2 separate regions of the Homo sapiens genome follow, and region 2 is linked to region 1. The links are contacts of gene promoters, found by promoter capture Hi-C in blood cells and fetal thymus (Javierre and others, 2016). All regions are on one chromosome and are shown on one strand. Each heading gives the region's core, a stretch centred on a gene start or on the middle of the fragment in contact. The rest is flanking DNA. Distances are from core to core; before and after follow the strand shown.

The links. The method cuts DNA at HindIII sites, captures the fragments that hold promoters and counts their contacts. A CHiCAGO score of 5 or more calls a contact.
Region 2: a contact is called between a fragment that was not itself captured here and the fragment with the promoter of SMIM19 in region 1, in 1 of 17 cell types (naive B cells). The highest score is 5.1, in naive B cells.

Annotation. Positions count from the first base shown.
Region 1 is chr8:42,540,248-42,543,064 of GRCh38, reverse strand. SMIM19 (small integral membrane protein 19) reads right to left here and starts at 1,480. Exons shown (of 4, transcript NM_001135674.2): 1 at 692-1,480. It also overlaps a transcript of SLC20A2 not described here. RefSeq lists silencers at 1,060-1,479, 1,620-1,899. The HindIII fragment of the contact is 8,293 bases long and covers 430-2,817 here.
Region 2 is chr8:41,484,044-41,486,860 of GRCh38, reverse strand. No RefSeq gene overlaps it. Among named protein-coding and RNA genes, the nearest start is that of GOLGA7, 5.1 kb to the left of the region's middle. The HindIII fragment of the contact is 161 bases long and covers 1,353-1,513 here.

The DNA.
Region 1 (2,817 bases), core at 231-2,730:
AAACTTGCCAATATATTACAACTAGGGGTTGGTTTTAGATTGACAAACTTTTAGGATGAGAACTACTTTTTTTTTTTTTTTTACAAAAACAGGGTCTCACTCTGTCACCCAGGCTGGAGGGCAGTGGTGCGATCTCGGCTCACTGCAGCCTCGACGTCCCAGAATCGAGGGATTCTCCTGCCTCAGCCTCCCAAGTAGTTGGGAATACAGGCAAGTGCCACCATGCCTGGGTAATTCTTATTTTTTTTTTTTTAAAGACGGGGGTGGGGTGGGGGTCGTCTCACTATACTGCCCAGGCTGGTCTCAAAACTCCTGAGCTCAGGCAATCCGCCCGCCTCAGCCTCCCAAAGTGCTGGGATTACAGGCGTGAGCCACCGTGCCCAGCCGAGAACTACTTTTTCTAGGGACTAGGTCACTGTATCATAAGCTTTAAAATCTGTGTCGTGATTTTGGGTTCCTGATGTCACGTCTAGGTGATTCTAAAATTGACCACCGCTTGTCATCGTGCCTTGAATGTTATCATTTTTGTCTCTCACTTAGAACTTTGTTACTTTGATACAAATTCACATTGGAACCACTTAGTTCCTAGAGTCCCTTACAACAAAATCCTCTGCATCAAAAAATGGGATTTCTTTCTCTCATCCCTCTGAAACACTAAAGGCTTGGTATTCTGAAGCCAAAGGGTACATACAAGCTCACAGGCCTTCACCCAACATCCAGGAAAGCAATTCACAGGTGCTGGGCAGTCCACAGAGTCACTGAATTATCCCAACAACCCTGCTGGGCGGCACTAAAGCTCCATTTTACAGGAGAAGAAACTGGGGTGGCGGCGGTGGTTATATAACTTGTCCAAAGCCACACAGGCCTGGGCGTGGAGGCGCGGGGCTGTTATACACACGACTCCCAAACCTGAACTCTTCCAGTCTTGGCCCCGATCCTGCGAGACCTGCTCCTTCCGGAAGAAAGTCAAGTGGAGCAGGGAGAAAATGTAATCCTCTCCCAGGAAGCAGCCCGGGTCCCAGGGCGGCGAGGCTCTAGGGACGTTTCCGCCGCCCGCAGGCTGCGCGTGATTCAGCCTCAACCCTCCCGCCGAGCCCCCGCCGCCCCGGCAGATGGGCCGCCGCAACTGGCCCGTGTGCGCTTCCGGAAGCGGGCGACTCGCAGCTCCACGCGACGCCGAGGGGCTCCGCGCCGGGACCGGGCGGGTGCTCGGAGTTTCGGGGACCGCACGGGACCGAGGGCAGGCGGGCGGCCACCCCCCTTACCCCCGCGTCCGGGGCGGGGCGGGCGGCGCGGGGCGGGGCCGGGTGACGCGGCCCCGCCGGGGACCGGGAGAAGCGGGGACGCGGGGCCACTCACGCTGCCGGCTCCGGAGGCGGCACGCGGCCAGCGCTGCTCCGCTCCGGGGCTCTTTACCCCGGAGTCGGGGCCGGGCGCGCGGGAAACGGTTACCGAGCGGACCTGGACGCCCTCTGCCTTCGTCATTTCCTGCCGGCCGGTCGGTTTCCGGATGAAACGAGGAGCCAGGTCTTTTTTTTTTTTTTTTCCTTTCCCCTTTTCAGTTTTTTGAGCCGGAGAGACGCAGCGGCGGCCCCAGTGCCGCCCCCGGGCGCGTGAGTGGAGCCGGGCTCCTTTCCCCTACCGCGCCGCGACCCCCGCCCGGGCTGCGCGCGCCGCCTCCCGCGAGCCCCCGGCCCGACTCCCGGGCTCCCGCGGGTGGGGGCCAGGGCTGGTCGGCGCCGGCGGGGCTCGCGGCGGCGGCGGGTTGCGTCCCCCGCGCCTGCTGGCCCACGTGGACCTGGCCGTCGCTTGCCGTGCGGCGCCTTTGCGAAAACTCGACGGAAGTGGCAGGGACCGGGCATTACCTGCGAGTGCCGGGCGCCTCCTGCTCCGCTGTGCGCGCTTGGGGTGGGACTCGGCGGGGGAGGGGTCGTGTACATTGTCCCACCAGGCGCAATGTAGCCGGGCGGCGCAGAGGATTTCTTTTTTGGTCTTGAGAGCATAGAGTCCCTTTTCATATTCACGTGTACTCTTAAGAAAGCGTCTGTTCTCCAAACTGGCTTTCCATTCTCCCCGTCCTAAATGGTGCGTGGCTGACACCGTAGTGTTTTCAAAACTGGATATGGCCAGGATGCTATAGCATTGTCAGTGTAAGTCCCTTTTGGGTATTTTTATTTAATTGTGTAGTGACTTGACAGAAGTGTTTCCCAGCTTGACCTAAGTAATGAATTTGCATAGGATTTCAGCATCAGTATGGAAGTGATCAGATGTCAGTGGCTGGTGCCACCTTGCAGATAAATGGCCACTGGTCCACGTAGTTCGTCTTTACTATACATTTTGATTAAGTTCTCTAGGACCAGCTGACTGGTAATTATAAGTCACATGAAACCCTGCAGAGATGAGAGCTTACATTGAACACTTCTTAACAAGTTTTCTATTCTTTGTTTCATCTGTTACAATTAAACTCACCTTCGTCTAGGGTAAGACCATTACTTTACGCAATAACATACTAGCTTAATTTACGGTATTTATATGTATTTATATATATTGTATATACATAATCATACATATAATTCTATAACATTTAGTTTGACTCTAAAGTTGGAAAATCAGGAAAATAACAGGTGATGTTGAGTACTGATTGTTTGCCGGGCCTGTGCCAAATGGTGTGCATGCTTTATGTAACTTAATCTAAAAAAATTTGAATACGTGAGTTTGATTTCAGTGTGTCCAAATGTGAAACGTGTACATTATTGTTATTGTTTTGTTTTTTTTGAGACGGGGTTTTGCTCTCGTTCAGGCTGGAGTGCAATGGCA
Region 2 (2,817 bases), core at 184-2,683, 1.1 Mb after region 1:
ACTCTGTTTTTTTTTTAAATTATTACATCATTAGTGACATAGTCAAATGATTTGCTAACATTAACATCATGATAGCAGCAGCTACTATTCATTGGGCTATTAGTGTTAAGGAACTAGGTTGAGCGGTTTATATGCATTACCTCATATAATCTCTACTATATCTATTAATCTAGTAACCCTGGCCAAACAATGATAATACTATATAATACAGATATGATCTATAATCTATGAGCTCACTAGCCCTACACTATTATTTTATTCCTTTCTATGTTTTCAACAATCCTCTGATATTTTAAGGAGCTGAAGTCAAGCTATTAGTCTACAGTATTGACAATTCATTCTTCCTTTTTGAATTTTGAGTCCCTTGTCTATGTTTAGCTTCTTTGAAGCCTACATATTATCTATTTTATTCCTCTGTCCATAATAGATTCTCATGAAATGCTTTGAAAATGAATTCATTCAACAAATATTTGTCGACACTCATAAGGGCTGGTGATGAAAGGATAAAAAAAGTGTGGATTATTTATGTCCTGTGGAAATTCACATTCTTATGGGTGGCCAGGAGGGTGGGAGGAGGGAGATTATAACAGGTTAAAAAACTTTGGGGAAGGGGAGGGGTTTTAACAGAAGGAGAGATAATTGGGCATTCCAGCCTCTCTGTCCAGGGAATGATAAGTATTCATACCTGAAATAAGTAGGATCTGAAGTCTGCTTGGGTGAGGGTCAGGTGGGAGTAGGGATGAGAGATCTTTAATAGAGAAGAGAGATGGTGATAAAAATCTTATATCCTTTTACACACCCCTCTATCGTTTCTTCTCCAAGGTGAATGAACCAGCTTCCTTTATCTTCGATGGTAGGATCTCTATTCCAAAGTTTCTGTCTTTTTGTATGACTCTCAGAACCTTCTGGTGTTTCAAACTAGATACTCTGATAAGAGCGTTAACCTGTGCTGAATATTATCAGTGAAATCCTTTTGTCCCTCCATTTTCAACTCTGTTTTTTTTTCTCTATTGGAACAAAGCTAGCTTTTCAATGCGGGGTCCCATTCTGTATCACCAACTCATGTTCAACTTTTGACCCATCCTGGATCATTTTCGGCCCTGCTTACAAACAGCTTCCCACGCTGCAGATGGCGTCTTCTCTTCAGCTACGATCTCTCCTGGGCTTTGTTCTATTTGTGTCCAACCACTTCCTCCCAGGTCCTTCATAAAGATCTCAATTGGATTGAAAGACGTCCTTATACTAAAGAAATTTTAAACTGTCCTCCTTGGCCATGCTCACGTTGCTCACCGAAGCCATCCCCGTTTCGTCTAACATCGTTTTTTTTGTAGTAGTTGTTTTCTTCTAAAGCTTTGAGGCATGACTGGGGTGGGGGCAGATCAAATCCATTTTCCTCGTTTTCAGTTCTAGTGTCTACCATGCACTGGTACAATGGGCAGAACTCCAAGGATCATTGTCTCTTTGTTTTCATGCATTTGCTGGTAATTTCAAGTCAGCTTCCGTTTTATAAGCTTGTATGTCTTTATTGCATTTTGAGAGAACATTATTGGCATACCTGAATTGACAGCATCTGTTCCTTCCATTTAAATTTCACCATCTAAAACAACGTGTGTCCCAGTTTCAGGAAACAGGCTGAACAGATGCCAGACAGTTGTACTGAATGCTCTCTCCATGAAAGAGCTGCTCTTGCTTACATTTTTGTTTATTTCATTGTGAGGGAGAAGAGCAGATTGAATGATGTCATTAATAAGGGTCCTTTGCCTTTATTGTTTAGGATCCTATTGAAGACCTCTCATATCTGAAGTGGCTGGTGGATAAGAGGGTTTGGAGATTTCAGACTCTTTTCACCAGCACAGTGTAGAATTGCAGAGCTGGAAGCAAGGGTGGTGTCACGGGTGTGTGACTTGTATAGTTGCATAGGGATCTGCACTGAGAAGAGCTCTCTTCTTGGCTTAATGTCCTGCTGTCATCATCTTGAAATTCGTAATACTTTCTGAACATGGGAGTCTGCACTTTAATTTTGCACTGGGCCTCAAAAATCATATAGCTAGTTGTGGATGGAAGAAATATGAGGGCATCTAGTGGGAACACACCATCATTATCTGGGATAGATGATTAACTGTCCATATCTTCTGTGGAACCTGATTTGACGGCAGTTTTGACAAAAGTAAAAAGAAAAACAGGCTGGGTGCGGTGGCTCACGCCTGTAATCCCAGCACTTTGGGGGGCCGAGGCAAGCAGATCACGAAGTCAGGAGTCGGAGACCAGCCTGGCCAACATGGTGAAACCTCGTCTCTACTAAAAATACAAAAATTAGCCCGAGGTAGTGGCATGCCCCTGTAATCCCAGCTACTCGGGAGGCTGAGGCAGGAGAATCACTTGAAACCAGAAGGTGGAAGTTGCAGTGAGCTGAGATCGCGCCACTACACTCCAGCCTGGGCAACAAGAGTGGAACTCGGTCTCAAAAAAAAAAAAAAAAAAAAAAGAAAAGAAAAGAAAAAAAAGACCTCCCTCCTTAGAATTGTACCTCCCTTGAGTTGGAGGGGCCTGGTAAACATCTGGCCCAGGTGTCCTTCTTAGAATCTGGCACTATTTCAACTATCTTTATGACCTCTAGGGATGAAAACTTCACAATTCCCCCTGTGGGCTCTTCCATGTGCACTGCATGTTATGTCTAATTTTCCCATAAAGGACAAATACTCACTAACACAAAGGATTAATTTCTACGGTTGCTTTATAGTAATATGCATTCTAGGGCATTGGAAAAATGGGAAATGAGGCTGTCTGTAAAATCCCCTCCACCCACTGTGGGATAGC